Regions from separate parts of the Homo sapiens genome. Here all the other regions are linked to region 3. Evidence: promoter capture Hi-C in 16 types of primary human blood cells and fetal thymus (Javierre and others, 2016). All regions are on one chromosome and are shown on one strand. Each heading gives the region's core, a stretch centred on a gene start or on the middle of the fragment in contact. The rest is flanking DNA. Distances are from core to core; before and after follow the strand shown. Region 1 has its middle 270 kb from the start of PRKD1. Region 2 has its middle 310 kb from the start of G2E3. Region 3 holds the start of FOXG1 (forkhead box G1). Region 4 has its middle 300 kb from the start of PRKD1. Region 5 has its middle 220 kb from the start of G2E3.

Region 1 (3,183 bases), core at 642-3,141, 1.4 Mb before region 3:
TAATAGGATATATGTATATATGAAAGGGAGTTTATGAAGGAGAAGTGACTCATGTGATCACAAAGTCAAGTCCCATCATAGGCTGTCAGCAAGTTGAGGTACAAAGCCAGTGGTGGGTCAGTCTGAGACCCCAAACCTCAAAAGTAGGGAAGCTGATAGTGCAGCCAAAGGCCCAAGAGCCCCTGGCAAACCATTAGTGTAAGTCCAAGAATTCAAAGGGAACTCCCCATGAGGCCATCAGTGCAGGCTGTGGGGAAGAAGGCAGGGTGGCAGGAATGGAGGCCATGGGCATTTGAGGCACTTCCTATGTGACTTTCTTGTGCCCTCAGGATCTGCTTGAGCCCAATCATGCATATACAACTTCCATCTGATGATGGAATGCTGCTGTGCATGCCCAACTTCATGGCTAGATGGGTCAGAAAGCACCCAGTTTATGATAGGCAGTTCAGGTCACATGGTGACTTGATGACCCATAGTCAAACCAAAGCCCAGTAGCAGGCCAAGAGTTGCCTCTCAAAAGAAGAGGAGTTATCTCCAGAAGATAACAGGGCCTTGCTGCAAAATCCTAGAGGCCTCTGCTTCAGTCCACCTATGGGGGCCTGCCAGAGGTGCCAAACAGCTTCCGTATCTACCACTGACACACCAAGCACCATTGGATCTGCTGGGCTTAGACTTTTGGGTTAATGCTGGAATGAGTTAAGACATTGGGGGACTGTTGGGAAGGCATGATTGTTTTAAAATGTGAGGACATGAAATTTCGGAGGAGCCAGGGGTGGGATGATATGGTTTGGCTGTGTTCCTACTCAAATATCCTCTTGAATTGTAGTTCCCATAATCCCCACGTGTCATGGGAGAGACCTAGTGGGAGGTAATTGAATAATGGGTGTGGTTACCCCCATGCTGCTGTTCTCATGATAGTGAGTGAGTTCTCATGAGATCTCATGGTTTTATAAGGGGCTTTTCTTCCTTTTGCTGGGCACTTCTCCTTTCCGCCGCCAAGTGAAGAAGGATGTATTTGCTTCCCCTTCTGCCATGATTGTGAGTTTCCTGAGACCTCTCCAGCCATGCTGAACTCTAAGTCAATGAAACCTCTTTTCTTTATAAATTGCCCAGTCTCAGGTATTTCTTTATAGCAGCATGAGAATGGACAAATACAGATAAGAATCACTAAGGATGCCTTTTGTTTTAAAGACTATAAAATGCAACTTGAATCAGGTTTAATAATAGGAGAAATCTCTTGGTTTATATAGTTAATGTTCAGTGGTAAGGTGAGCTTCAGGTGAGACTTGATCTAGTTGCTGAGTGATATCACTTGGTATATGAGTTGTTTCTGTATCTTTATTTGATTTTCCACATTATAAACTTTATTCTGAAGTGAACTTCCCTCATAGTTTCAAGATCTCTGTTAACAGCATCCAGGGTAGTATTAAATGCTTTATCATTCATTTTTGGTGGGACAGAGTGTCTTTTATGGTAGTTACTGAGAGAGAAAGAGAGAGAGAGGGAGAAAAACCTCCCTTTCAAGAATCCTCTAAAAATAAAACATTTGCCCAAATTAAATTCATATCCACCCATGTGGTCAAGGAGATAGGACACATAGATGTGCTTGAGCCATTCAGCACCCTTTCTACAACAACACTGGAGCTAGAGATGGGTCAGTCCTGCCAAAAACTGTGACCATGAGATTAGAGGGAAGGAGAAAATGAATCTGCAGAGATCTATTATGGTCTGTAAGATGGTGTATTAGTCTGTTTTCACACTGCTGATAAAGACGTACCCGAGACTGGGTAATTGACAAAGAAAAAGAGTTTTAATGGACTCACAGTTCCATGTGGCTGGGGAGGCCTCACAGTTATGGTGGAAGACAAAAGGCACATCTTACATGGTGGCAGACAAGAGAGAATGAGAACCAAGTGAAAGGAGTTTCTCCTTATAAAACCATCAGATCTTGTGAGACTTATTCACTATCACAAGAACAGTATGGGGGAAACCACCCCCATGATTCAGTTATTTCCCACCAGGTCCCTCCCACAACATGTGGGAATTACGAGAGCTACATTTAAAGATGAGATTTAGGTGGGGACACAGCCAAACCATATCAGATGGCTAGGCTAGACTTCTTGCTGTTAAATGCAACGTGTGATTGCGGTTGATGAGTTCTGAGGAGTGGTCTCTTAGGAACATGATAAAGAAATTCTCCAACAGCCTAGGTAACTCAAAGACTCATCAGTGTAATTAGATGTAGAAAATTAATACTCCTAGAGAATATGGATATTTCTTCTTAGATGAATAAAAAAGGCAGTTCTCAAACCTGGACTATGCCTCAGAATTGCCAGATCCCATGCCCCACCCCAACAATTCCTGAATGAAAATATGCAGAGGTGGGGCTCAGAAGATATATTTTTTAGGGTGCTCTGCAAATACTCTCATGTAGTCATGTGGGAGGCTTTGAGAACTAATATCTAAGGCTTACGCAAAGCCCACCTTTAATAATAAAATGTATCACAGCTCTGGCCTGTGACATTAATACCAAGGGACAAGGTGGCCTGTGGTTTGGAAATTCAAGATCCATCAGTATGAAGAAAGAAAAAAAGTCAATACTCCCTGGTGGCATACAGCTTTCTTCACAGACAAGACATACAGATTTTGCTGGGAATTCATATTCCTCCCTGCCCTACCTCATCCTTTTTAGGTTGCGGATAACATAGTTTGACTCATGTACCTTTCCAAGTAAGCTGCACTTCAGAGGCAAAGAATTAGGAGTGAGTGGCAGTAGCCCTACACAGAGAAGCCTATATTTTGAAATGGGACTCTTCCATTATAGAACTCAAACTTTCCCACAGCTGTTCTCTGGAATTCTTACTATGTGTCAAGCCCTGTTCTGAGGTTTTATATTATTAACTGATTTAATCCTCAGAGGTAGATGCTATTATTACCTCCACTTTATAAATGATAAGACTAAGGTATGCAGAGGCCAAGTAACTTTACTGCATTGACCCAGCTAGTCAGCAGCAGAGTTGGTTCTAGAACTGCCATTATGGGTTCGTGTCAGGCAGAAGGACCCTGAGTTTAGAAATGCTTTTGGTGACTTCAAATGTGTAGGCAATGTGCTCATAAATGACACAGTGTCTTAATTACTTCTGGACAACAGGCAGCTATCTTGAGATCATTTGGGTCATTAAC
Region 2 (3,154 bases), core at 452-2,951, 1.5 Mb before region 3:
AAAAATTAATATCTGTTGTTGATTAGCTCTCATTATACCAAAGGAACTTTTGAAGGGAGGTATTTAATTTTTCCTTTTGTTTCTATTCTTATTTGTGAATATGTTAATTTTAAGAGAAAGTAGAGAAGGAAATATTCAAGTAATAAAGCTGTCTAGTTCAATAAGACAAACATATTTTTAATAAAATTCACTGTTTCCAAACAAATCATAGATCAAAGAGCTTGAGAGAAGGAACCAGAATGGTTGACCATACATATATTAGAAAGCACAAGTGCCTTTAAGCAAAATAAACTGGCTATTTAAGCAGTATTCTGGGGAATATGGTCAAACAAGTGTGCATTCTCTGGTAATTTTAAAATTTTTCTAATCAAAACATAAAAATTAATTTTCTTACAAAAGTTAATGGGTGCTGGAAATACATATTAAAATGCTATATTGACATAAATCACTAATGGAAATACGGGGAAGAAGAGTTTTGAATGAAAGACATTTGCATGAGCTAGAAAATGGAAGATGCAAAATAAAGGTTAAGTGCAATGTTTCCATGTAGTAGTGAAGTTTTTGGAGTCTGAAAACAAACATAAAATGTTACAATTGGTGTGGTTTGGGTCTTCCTCTCTAATGTACTAGAACCCAAACCATATTAGAAAACTAAACATTTAAAACATACAACCATTCTGGAAAAATAAATCCTTTGTGGGGTAGGGGGCACCGTGAATACACTTTTTCCTGTTGGTAGAGTCCATGCTGGCCCTGTTAAAAAACATGGTAGCAGAAATGAAGCCATAATGATAAAATATTTTATGAGAAAATGTTTAGTGGGGCCATAGTATGGCATTGAGTTAATAATGCTAAGAAATCAAAACAATGCCAATTGTTGATTATTGCTATGAAGAGATAGCTTATTGGCCTATAATTAATAACAAAGTTTGATTTCTAATAGGTACGGCAATGCTTCCTAAACTTGGTTGTGTTCTGGAATTACCTGGGGATCTTTAAAAAATACTGTTGTTTGGATCCTACTTACAGAAATTTTGATTTAGTTACTGTGGAATATAACCTGAGCATCAAGTTTTTAAGGGCTTTCTGGGTCATTCTAATGTCTAACCAAGTTTGGGAAATACTGATATACTCTATTGTCAGTGAAAACAACTACTACCTACTTTTTGCTTTGTTGACATAAGAACTCCCACTATTGTCTGTGCATCCAGAGAAAACCTTTGATATTGAAACACGTATCTCTGGAAAAGTTTGATAGAGGGGCACTTTTGTATGAGGGGGTGATAAGGCATGGGCAGAAAGAGAGGCTATTCTGAGAATGGAAGGTTATGAAGTCTGATATATAATGAAGAAAGAGGGTATTTCTCCATTTCACCTAGTTTGGACTTTAATGAGGCCTCATTAATTTGCTTAAGCTAATTTTCTATAAACTATATATTCATATTCAAATGTCGTTCAAAATATATTAAAAGATAAGTTTTGATGATTCACTATTCTGAATTATTTAAGCCATGAGGAATAATCAGAGGTTCTTTTCTGAAAGAAAAAAACACTTCAGATTGTCGATCATTGCAATCACTATCTAGGGAGATATATATTATATCTTTGTTATGTTTAATTTCGATGATTCTCTGAACTAAAACTTGTTGTAATGCTACCCTTTATAATGGCCTTTGGCTGGTTCTGTGATAAAAAGAGCAAGATAGTAATTTCAAGATGTATTTCCTACATGACTCTGCTTTTGTGACTTTATCGATCCCAACATTATCTGAACTCTTTCTCCCCCAGTTTTGGGATATCAGATGAGAAGGAGTTATTTTAGTATCTCTTGGAGAATAGCATCGATGAACTATTTTCATCCAATGCAGCATAAATTGTTTTGTCCGCAGCAGATTCCACCCAAAGAAGGCCGACTCTGATTACTGGTTATTAAGGTTTTTTTCTGCCATATGTCTGAATGGAAACGTGGCAGATTTTCCTTTGGGTTTCAACAAAGTGTTTTCTCAAATCACAATGAAACGAGGTGATTGAAATGCCATAATAACAGTGGTGGTGGTAGATTGTTGCTGCTTCTTGACAAAACAGAGAAGTGGAGCAATTTGAAATCAGAGTTAACTTTTGGGTAAAGAGGTAAGGCCTCAAAACCAAAGATCAAATTTGCTGTTAGCCTAATTCTAGCTAACAACAAAGAGCATTTGCTTGTTTGGAGTCTCTGCGGACAGGTTATTAGTTTCCTACCTCCCGAGACGTGAAAGGAACACCTCAGAATGTGGAAGAAAATGGCAAAGCAGCCCTCGTCTTGGTGATGTTTGTATTGGCTGTGCTTATGCAGGAGGAAAATGTCTTCTTCTTCCCACTCAGTGGCACTTCCAATCCATTTGGCGTGATATTTAATGGGGCTGGTCATTAGCCCAGAAATGCATAAAGGAGAATGCATTAGCCACAATTTGTCTTGATAAGGTTCTCTTCACTTATCTGATACAAGGCACGGATGCATTCTAAAAAAGAAGATAGCCTTGCTAGGAGTGCTGATCACGGTGGTTTCATTAGACTTCCTGAGGCACCGAAGTGAACATTTAGTTATAAAGATAGCCAATATTTAGTGATATGATATAATCGTTTGGTTCCTAAGTCTGAAAACAAGAGTTTATCTAAGATTAATATGGGACTTTTTGATAAAACAATACTCAAAATAAAAGTCTTAAAGTTTTGGGCATCATGCACATTAAGACTAAAAATTGTAATATATTATTTGACTTTGTGTCCAAAATTATGGACAAGGGTATTTTTTAACCCTAATATTGGATTAACTCTATAATTTTTTCATTTTTTCCCAAATGTTTATTGGCCATTTATACATACTTTTTTTTAATTGGGGAAAATATACATAGCACAAAATTTACCATTTTAAACTATTTTTAAGTGTACGATTCTGTGACATTAAGTACATTCACACTGTTGTGCAAACATAATCACTATAAATCTCCAGAACAATTTCATCTTCCCAAACTGAAACTCCATACCCACTAAACAGTAACTCCCCATTACCTGCTCCCTCCACCTTTGATAACCCTATTCTACTTTCTGTCTATGAATTTGACTAGGTACTTCACATAAATGGAATCATGCAATATTTGTCCTTTTGTGTTATCAA
Region 3 (3,155 bases), core at 1-2,500:
TGCCCTTGCCCGGGTCGTCGTAGTGGCGCGGCACCTTCACGAAGCACTTGTTGAGGGACAGATTGTGGCGGATGGAGTTCTGCCAGCCCTGCTTGTTCTCGCGGTAGTAAGGGAAGTTCTTCATGATGAACTCGTAGATGCCGTTGAGCGTGAGCCGCTTCTCGGGGCTCTGCCGGATGGCCATCATGATGAGCGCGTTGTAGCTGAACGGCGGCTTCTCGTACTTGCCGTTCTTCTTCTCGCCCTCCTTGCCCCCCTCCCCGTCCTTGCCGCCCTCGCCCGCCCCCTTCTTCTCCTCCCCCCCGGCGCCGGCGCCCTTCTCCTTCTCGTCCGGCCCGACGGGCGCCAGCTCCCCCGGCCCGCCGCCCGGCTCGCCCTTGCCGCCCAGCCCGTCCGCTTTAGCCCCGTCCAGGGCGGCGGCCGGTGGTGGCGGTGGCGGCGGCGGGAGCAGCAGCTGCTGGGGGCCCTTGTCGTCGTCGGCGGCCGGGGCGCCCCGCGTCTGGGGGGGCTGCGGTGCCGGGGGCGGCGGCGGCGGCGGCTGCTGCTGCTGCGGCGGCGGCGGCGGTTGCGGGGCGGGCGGCGGCGGGTGGTGGTGATGGTGGTGGTGGTGGTGGTGGTGCTGGGGGTGGTGGCTGTTGTGGTGGCCGTGGCTCGCGTGGTGGTTGTCGTTCTGGACCGCCTCGGGCACCAGGCTGTTGATGCTGAACGAGGACTTGGGGATCATTTTCACCTCTTTCCTATCTCCCATGTCCAGCATCACCCAGTCGTCGGGGGGAAACGGCGGCGGCGGCGCGGGAGCGGGACAGCGGCGCGGCGGGCGGCGGCGACCGGTGGGTGCCGAACGGGGCGCGGGGGGCGCGGGCGGCAGCGGCGGCACTGAGCGCTCCGGCAGCAGCGCAGTTGGACCGCAGGCTCGGGCGCTGGCAAGTCATGTAGCAAAAGCAGCAACCACCCCTCAGGAATTAGAAAAAAAAAAAAAAAGGAAAAGAAAAAAGAAAGAAAGAAAAAAGAAACAACCACCGCCCCGGGGGTGAAGCTCCCTCGCTCCCAACTGTACTTCTTGGTCTCCCCCCCCACCCCCCGCTCCCCCCCCCGCTGCTTCCTCCTCCTCCTCCTCCTCTCGCAGCAGCAGTCACAGCAGCAGCAGCAGCAGCCCAAAGGGGGGGAGAGCCGGGCGGCGGGCGGGCGCGTCCCGGAGCGGCCGCGGCGAGGCTGGGGAGACAGCGATCGAGGCGGCTATAGCCACAATTAATTTTCCGAGCTACAGGCGCACACTAGGGCTGTAAAAAAATTTTTGGTTTAACCTTTCCTACCGCTGGGCCAATCAGAGCTGGCGGCGTGCGGGAGCGTCTCTCTCGCCGTCGACCAATCGGAGGGGCCGGGCCCACCCACCCCCGCCCCGCCCGCCGGCTGCCGCCCCCTCGGGCGCTCGCCTCCCCCTCTCCGCGGGCCTCGGACCCCGAGGCCGCGCGGAGCCGCGTAGGGATACGCCGGCGGGAGCACGCGGTGCCGCAGCCCTTCCCTGCGCCCCCGCCACCCCCTCCACCCCGCCGGCTCCGCTCCACCGAAATTCCCCTCCTAGGGCCAATAGCTCACATTTCCGGCTTCCTCCTCATTGTACTGGGTCATTTTCGTTTAAGCGTCAATATTTGTCCTTAGTGATTAAAGTTTGTATCCAATTTTATTTTTGAAAGCGGGGGTGGTGGTGGTAGTGGGAAGAGTGGGAGTGCAGGGAGAGGATGCGAGAGGGCAGGAAATGGAGGAGGTAGAGGCGAGGCACTACTTTTCCGAGTCGGCCTTGCAGGCCAGTGTCTGGCATTTCTGAGCCAGCAGGAAAATTGTGCCCTTTGTAGGTAATAGTCTAGCGCAGCTTTGGATAAGGGGGGAGATAAGGCCCACCGCTGGCGTGTGTGCGGGGGTGTCCTTTACTTCGGGGGAGGAGGGTGTGGGAGAGCTTTGGGAGCGATGAGATGAGGAGGAGGAAGTGGGCAGAGGAGCGCGGGGCCAAACAGGGGTTACTTACTCGATTCCTGAGGCCTGGGCGGCGGCGAGCTCCGGGCTCCGGCACCGCGGGGAAACCGGGACTGGGGCTCCGGGTGCTGCTGCGGCGGCCGGGGCCGCTCAGTAGTGGGCGCCTCTGATGGCCTTCCGAAATGAGAGGTGCCCAGAGAGAAAACAGTACCAAACAATCTCGAAATAAATCAGGTAACACATGCTATATACGTGTGTCTCTTCCTTTTCCTTCTCTCCTGCTCCAGAGCGTCGCTCACGCGCGGGGTGACTCGATGTCGTTTTCTCCTCGCCGCTCCAGCCTCAGCTTCTAATCCGAATTGGAAGCGGGTAGCTGCGAGCGATCACCCTGGAAATATTTTCGTTTTGCTTGTTGACATTGGAGGGAAAATAAGGGTGGGCGTCTATTTCTTTCCGGTTTTTTTTTTAAGCCTTCCTATTTTCACTCCTTTTTTTTCCTTTCCGTTTCTCAAATGCTTTTATTTTGTGCGGGCCTCATTCCTGAAATAACAGTATACTGAAGCCAGCTCTTGCCAACCCTGAGTGCTGCTGGAAAGCACCGGGGAGCCTTGGGAACGTGGATCTCACAGTCCCAGCTTCTTGGGCTTTGGAACTGGGAAGGTTCGGTTGGAGGTTGAAGTGAATGGGGAAATTGCGAATCGGGGGCTTTAAAAGGATCCCGTGGCCAGGGGCAGGGCTAAGGCCCAGCATTTCCCAGGGATTGGAATTTAGTGGGGAGCACATTGATCAAAGGCTGTTTCATCCCACATGGGCACGAAACATACCACATTTTACGGAGGATGTAGCCCCAGAGAAGAGGGAGGTGGAGAAGCATAAATGAAAGGCACCTTTTCCTTCCTCTAGAAGGTAAATAATTATAAAATGTAAGCATTTCTTCACTTGGATAAACTTTCATTAAGATATCTGGCAGATTTGGTATTTAAGAAAACGAAGGAAGGAAAATTGGTGCTTATGCTTGATCCTAAAGTTAAATTGTAACATAAAGAATGCGGTTGATGAATACTCAGGATAATAGGGGGTTATTCCATCCTCCCCACCCCCAGTCTTAAGAAAGAGAAAGAGAGAAAAGGTTGGGGGGGGGGGAGGAAACTGGAGAGAATAATAGATAATTACAAATAGCTAGT
Region 4 (3,068 bases), core at 470-2,969, 1.5 Mb before region 3:
AGGTAAAAGTGAGTCAAGAATTCATAAAGAGGCATTTCACATTGTGTCTAATTGAAAATGCAAAATTAAAAGTGGGTTTTAGCGGTAAAACAACATTAGAACTGAGGCCTTGGCATATGAATGAGTTTACTCAGAAAAATGCATAAACAAACCTATTGTTTAATACTATAAAATCCATTTCCTTTTATTTTTGTTGAGGCTGAGGAAGGAAAAGGATATTTACTTGTTGTGTGAGCTTGGAAAAATCTCTTAGTGTTTGGGGCTTGAGTTTTCTCACCTGTGAAATGAAGAGATTGGATTAGATTATATTAGTATATCCTCTAGTTTTAAAATTCCATGATTGTCCTAGAAATCACAGAAACAGTCTGCACAAGAGCTGAGTGTCCTGAAAGGAAAGAAAGTTTTCAAAAGATGCCCCAACTTAATTCATGATGTTCATTGTTTTTCTTATTCTGTTATAGTGATTGAAATATCCATGTCCATAAGAAGAGAATCACTTTCCCTTGGACAGAGCTTGACAAAGTTCTCATCCTTTATTTAGTTCCCTAAGTAGCGTGGCATATGACATGTGAGAGGACTTGGACTTTCACAATCATATTATCCTAAAGGCAACCCTAGCTACCTTAGTGTATGTTTTTGAGCAGAGGGAGTGAGAAAAATGTGAGTTTAGAGAGTTTGGCAAAAAGGGAGGCCAACTCGTGAAGAGTCTTATGTGCTCTAAGAGAGTGGCCTGGATCTCTTCATACTGGATTATGAAGGTGATGAAAAGCCATCAGTAACTTTTAATGAGGAGAGGGGTGGTAAGAAATAAATTATGTGATTCGTATTTTAGAGAGAAAACTCTGGCATGAAGTAGAAAATGAATGGGTGTGGGGATAGATCACAATCAGCACGATCAATGAAGATGTATGGACATAGTGCAGGCAGATGAAAAGAAAACTAAAGTAGGGCCAGTGGAAATCTAGAGAGGAGGGTGAACACAATAGTAGTTTAGTAAGGAGGCTAGGGAAAGATGGAAGTTGAAGATGAACTTCAGGTTTGTCTTGAGAAACTGGGGAGATGGTGAATGTTTGAATAGAGAAAATAATGGGCTTTATTTTATGCATGATGAGTGAGATTGTATCAGGAATGGTCACAGGAGAGGAGTAGAGGAAGGAGCAGAAATGTTAACTTTAGAGCAGAAGGAGAAAAAGGATTCCAACAAGAGAAGGTGGAGGCGTCCTAGACGAGGCTGTGGGCTTTATCTTCTGCCCTTGGCTCATTCAGTTGATTGAACAGATTACCTCTTCATACTTAAGGTGTGTATGGCATGGGAGAGACAGAGAAAAACAATCACACCATCATTGGATGAGCTGACATCATGATTCTCACCATATTCCTGATGCCACACATGATGGCTGAAAAATGGTAAGCCACACTATAGTTGTTGAATGAATGGATAAGTTCATTAATGAAGTTCTATAATAAAAGTACGTAAAACATGTTATGGGACCATGGAGGAAACAGTGGGCTATTTTTGAGTAGAAAGTAAAAGTCAGATAATATTTCACAGAAAAGGTGGCAAAGAATGGTTGAGAAACAACTGAAACGAAGGGAGCAGCATTTGTAAAGTCACGTTTGTATAAAAGTGAATCTTTCCTTTATTTTGAGCTGTGGAGGAAGAAGACAGTGTTGACCTCTGTTTTAGTATGGATTATCATATAAGGATCTTTTTTTTTATCTTAAACACATTCTTGAAAATATTTCATGTTTTGTAGAATAACTATATTATTAGGCTTTGTGCGTAAAATAAACAGAAATGGTGTGCGCAGTTTCCTCACTTAAATCAAACAGGGAAAATAATTCAACCAAGTTATTCCCTCAGTCAGTGAGTAAATGACGTAATGATGCTCTTATGTGAACAACAGCATCAACACTGATGAGTAAACCCTGATAATGTTTAAAGACCTTACTTTTGGAATGAATAAATGTGGAATAAACTAGGTTTTTTAAACCACTATCAATTTTTTGAATAAACTGTAGAGCAGAACAACCATAAGTATACATCTTTTCAGTCTTCTTCTTTTCAACCTTTGCAGACTATAGTCCAGAACCCTGTGCTACAGTATCAACTGATCTCTTATTGTAATTTATGTATTAAAAAACAATATTTCCTAGATTTTTTGGTCACCTACATTCCCTTCTTTAATCAAACATTGTTTAATATGTCCTATGCATCAAATATAATATCATGTATCATGAGTAATATCATATTCTAGCAATATGATATATAATATTATCATAGTATCAATTTGATGCATAGGTCATATTAAAGGAGCTTGCCAACCAAGAGGAGAAACAAAATTTACCCAAATGAACAATAAGAAGCAATAAACAACCAAGTTTTAAAGAAATAAGTTCTCATTTTAGCTGCTTGTCTCACACTGATAACAAAAACCTCATTATGCCCAAGAGCCTGGTATGCACATCTGAGAAATTTAAACTTTATTCACCTTCCGCTATCAGATCTCTACTTATACTCCGATGTTTATTCCCACAGAGTTGCTTTTAAGGACACTTTCAGAAGGCTTCAGTTCAACAAATACTAAATTTATTGTACCAGTCACCTTGCCAGTTAGTTTGGAGGATTCTGAGATGAAAAAGACATAGGCCCTGCCCTCAAGGTGCTTTATTTGAGAATGGAAAGAGTAGGGGTAGGTTGGGAGTTAGACGAGTGTTCAAATGACTATACTGTAGGTGGAGTAAGTTAAGGATCACAGAGGAAGAAAGTCAAAATGTGATGGTGGAAAACAAGAGTCTCTCAACACAGCAGAAAAAATAGTAGTAAGAACTTTCTATGTATTAGGTAGTAGGGAAATAAAAAGGCAGAGAACATAGCTATTCACAAAGTCTTCAAAGAAATAACATCATGTCAGCTTTCAACTTACTGTTACAAAGCACCATTTCATATCTTTGAAAGGCTCAAGAAAGTCAGCAGTGTGTTTGGTAAAACTTTCCTACCCACTGTCTGAGCTCAGGATGCTGGGCAATTGTCCCTCTTGTTTAAGACTTAAGTACAGATGGTCCCT
Region 5 (2,971 bases), core at 317-2,816, 1.6 Mb before region 3:
GATCACGTTAGTAATTAGCTCCTGAAAACCTGGAAGATAATGAATATATTTGATGTATTGAAGCTTTAGTGAAAGACTTAACAGTCATTAAAATGAGCTCAGAAGATTCTAGCTCTGTGGGTGAGTGTCTGGGCTGATGGCATAGTTAATGTCACTATTGTTCTTCCTTAGTTTAACTTGTATTCGGTGTATATTTTATACAATTTTGGTTTTAAAAATGTTTATTTTTTTGAGGACAGACCACATATTTGGGGGTCTTTGAAATAAACTAACTTGATGGCCCAGCTCACATAATCTTTACCAGGTATCAACCAACCCCTTAACTTCGTGTGACTACCGTCAATCCTGCATTGAGACCTTGGCTTTTTTAGTAAGAGACCCGACTTTAAAACAGGACAATTTACCTATTCTGGACAGCATCAAGAATAAAGGAGAACATGGCACATAGTCTTATTTATTCTTTATTTGCAACTTTAGAGAGTAGGATTATTTAGAGTGGGGTCATTGAACAAACACACTTTTGTTTTGCAGTTACTCTTGTTATTGTACATATCACACTGATTTTTGCTGCTTAAGTGTCCAGTGTTTAGCTCTTTCAATGTGGCCTGATTATATATATATATATTTAAAAACCTTTATTCCTCTCTGCTTTGTATATATATTTAAAAACCTTTATTCCTCTCTGCTTTGCTGTTTGTGAGATGGCTTCCATGCATGATAAAACCAAGGGTGTTTGAGAGACAAATACAGGATTATAAGTTGGTCAGCTTTATGACACTTGACACCTTAAGATATGGTTTCTAGATAACAGGGCTTGCCTGCAGAGTCTTGACCCAAACACCAAAGGTGGGAGTGAGGCAGGGCTCCTACACAGCACAGGCTGGTCAGAAAATTGGGAGCAAATGACTCTAGTTAGTCATCATTCACTTTTTCTGCTGTTTTGGGGAAGAATTTTGTCTCAGCTCCACAGAGCTTTAGAAAAAGAATGATGCATTTCTGAAGCACTTAGCATGGAGAACCTGTTGATATCATTTGTATTATTACAATTTCATATTATATTTGAGCTCTTGTATACTTCTTTATATTATTTTTTCTAAGACTGGATTATGCCAGAATTTGTGCTAAGTTCTGGGAATCAGGTGGAATGCTTTTCTATGGGCTTACATCTTTCTTTGAAAGTAAATTTTTGAAGGACTGAATAGGATTGCAAAGTATGATAACCAAAACTCTTTATGGGATATTTAAAGGGCAAAGATCCATTCCATGGGGCGGGGATCTCCCCGCCCCCCATTTTGTACTTCTTAATTCCTCTTTTCCCTCACTTTTTCTGAGGCCAAATTGAGGCAGTAGAACAAGAAGAACAGGAAAGAGGTTGTGACCAAGTATTCAGCGATGTTGCTTTAGCACTCTCTGGGTAAATACAGTAACAGATGAGCAGAGAGCCAGAGGTCCAACGACTGCTTCCTGGGCCCCCACCCATTCTTGTCAAGCAACGCCAGCAAATTCAAAAGCACAAAGTTGGTTATTTTTAACTGCTCATCAAAGCCACTAGAAACAAACTTTCAAAACTTTTCTTCTATTTTTGCTTCTTTTCCTCTTTCTCCTTATTCCTCATTTTTGGGAGGTACTGTTGATTGGAAAAGGTTAAAAAGAAAACTCAGACAGCTGAATTTTTAAGACAGAGATGATGATAAAAATAAATGGCCAGATATTAAGAAAGAGATAATGGGGAGTAACAATTTGTGCAACCCTTTAGGGCTTTGAGAGCGTGATTATCAGCGAGAAAATAGTGGCTTCAATGTAGGGAACAATCTTAGTTAAGACTTTGCGAGTAGTGATATATCTTTTATTTATTATTATTATTATTTTTTTTTTTTTTTGAGATGGAGTCTCACTGTTGTTGTCCCGGGTCGGAGTGTAATGGTGCGATCTTGGTTCACTGCAACCTCCGTCTCCCGGGTTCCAGCAATTCTCCCACCTCAGCCTCCCGAGTAGCTGAGATTACAGGCGCCCGCCACCACGCCTGGCTAATTTTTGTGTTTTCAGTAGAGACAGGGTTTCACCATGTTGGCCAGGTTGGGCTCGACCTCCTAACCTCAGGTGACCCACCCCCCCCCTCCCTCGGCCTCCCAAAGTGCTGGGATTACAGGCGTGAGCCACCAAGCCAGGCCGATATATCTTAATGTTTGGAAAACATTGGAAGCATTTTTCATAAAAGTTAAAATACTGGCCGAGCGCAATGGCTCACGCCCGTATTCCCAGCACTCTGGGAGGCTGAGGTAGGTGGGTCACGAGGTCAAGAGTTCCAGACCAGCCTGACCAACATAGTAAAACCCCGTCTCTACTAAAAATACAAAAGTTAGCGGATGTGGTGGCGGCGCCTGTAATCCCAGCTACCTAGGAGGCTGAGGCAGGAGAATCGCTTGAACCCGGGAGGTGGAGGTTGCAGTGAGCCGAGATCGTGCCACTGCCCTCCAGCCTGGGCGATGGAACAAGACTCTGTCACACACACACACACACAAAATTAAAATACTATCATTTATATGTTAATATTATATAATCAACTAATTTGTGATGTATAGGAATAAATGGCATGAATTCCGTCAGTACCAGAGATTTATTGAGTAATCAGAAAAAAATTAAAGAGTCTTAATATGACAACATAGGTCTTACAAAAATAAATAGCTTAGCAGGAAGCAGGAATCCAGGCTATTGTTTATGCTGTCAATTCAAATTAAAAACGAAAATGAAACAAAGGATTTCTGCTAAAATATATTATCACATATGGAAAATGAATTCACCTCCTCCTCCCTGGCCCACCAGCAACATGGAAAGTATTAACTTAGAACTTATTTCCCTTTTCCTCCATCTCTTTGAGATGATAACTGAAACTCAATAGCGCTTTATAATTAAAGAATAAGGTACTGATAGTGAAACGCTTTTCACTTCACTCAATAGATTTAAAAATAGA

Evidence for each region. Contacts are between HindIII fragments. The CHiCAGO score rates a contact against its expected background, and 5 or more counts as called.
Region 1: a fragment that was not itself captured here is called in contact with the fragment with the promoter of FOXG1 in region 3 in 1 of 17 cell types (erythroblasts); the score reaches 5.8 in erythroblasts.
Region 2: a contact is called between a fragment that was not itself captured here and the fragment with the promoter of FOXG1 in region 3, in 1 of 17 cell types (M2 macrophages). The highest score is 6.0, in M2 macrophages.
Region 4: a fragment that was not itself captured here is called in contact with the fragment with the promoter of FOXG1 in region 3 in 1 of 17 cell types (M2 macrophages); the score reaches 7.0 in M2 macrophages.
Region 5: a contact is called between a fragment that was not itself captured here and the fragment with the promoter of FOXG1 in region 3, in 1 of 17 cell types (M2 macrophages). The highest score is 5.2, in M2 macrophages.

The regions. Positions count from the first base shown.
Region 1 is chr14:30,196,726-30,199,908 of GRCh38, reverse strand. No RefSeq gene overlaps it. Among named protein-coding and RNA genes, the nearest start is that of PRKD1, 270 kb to the right of the region's middle. The HindIII fragment of the contact is 3,893 bases long and covers 1-3,183 here.
Region 2 is chr14:30,246,466-30,249,619 of GRCh38, reverse strand. No RefSeq gene overlaps it. Among named protein-coding and RNA genes, the nearest start is that of G2E3, 310 kb to the left of the region's middle. The HindIII fragment of the contact is 3,706 bases long and covers 1-3,154 here.
Region 3 is chr14:28,764,882-28,768,036 of GRCh38, reverse strand. It overlaps FOXG1 (forkhead box G1), which reads right to left and starts at 1,250. Exons shown (of 1, transcript NM_005249.5): 1 at 1-1,250. The coding sequence starts at 757. It overlaps FOXG1-AS1 (FOXG1 antisense RNA 1), which reads left to right and starts at 2,718. Exons shown (of 7, transcript NR_125758.1): 1 at 2,718-2,877. RefSeq lists an enhancer at 1,595-2,119. The HindIII fragment of the contact is 9,211 bases long and covers 1-3,155 here.
Region 4 is chr14:30,229,741-30,232,808 of GRCh38, reverse strand. No RefSeq gene overlaps it. Among named protein-coding and RNA genes, the nearest start is that of PRKD1, 300 kb to the right of the region's middle. The HindIII fragment of the contact is 4,964 bases long and covers 1-3,068 here.
Region 5 is chr14:30,336,056-30,339,026 of GRCh38, reverse strand. No RefSeq gene overlaps it. Among named protein-coding and RNA genes, the nearest start is that of G2E3, 220 kb to the left of the region's middle. The HindIII fragment of the contact is 3,002 bases long and covers 66-2,971 here.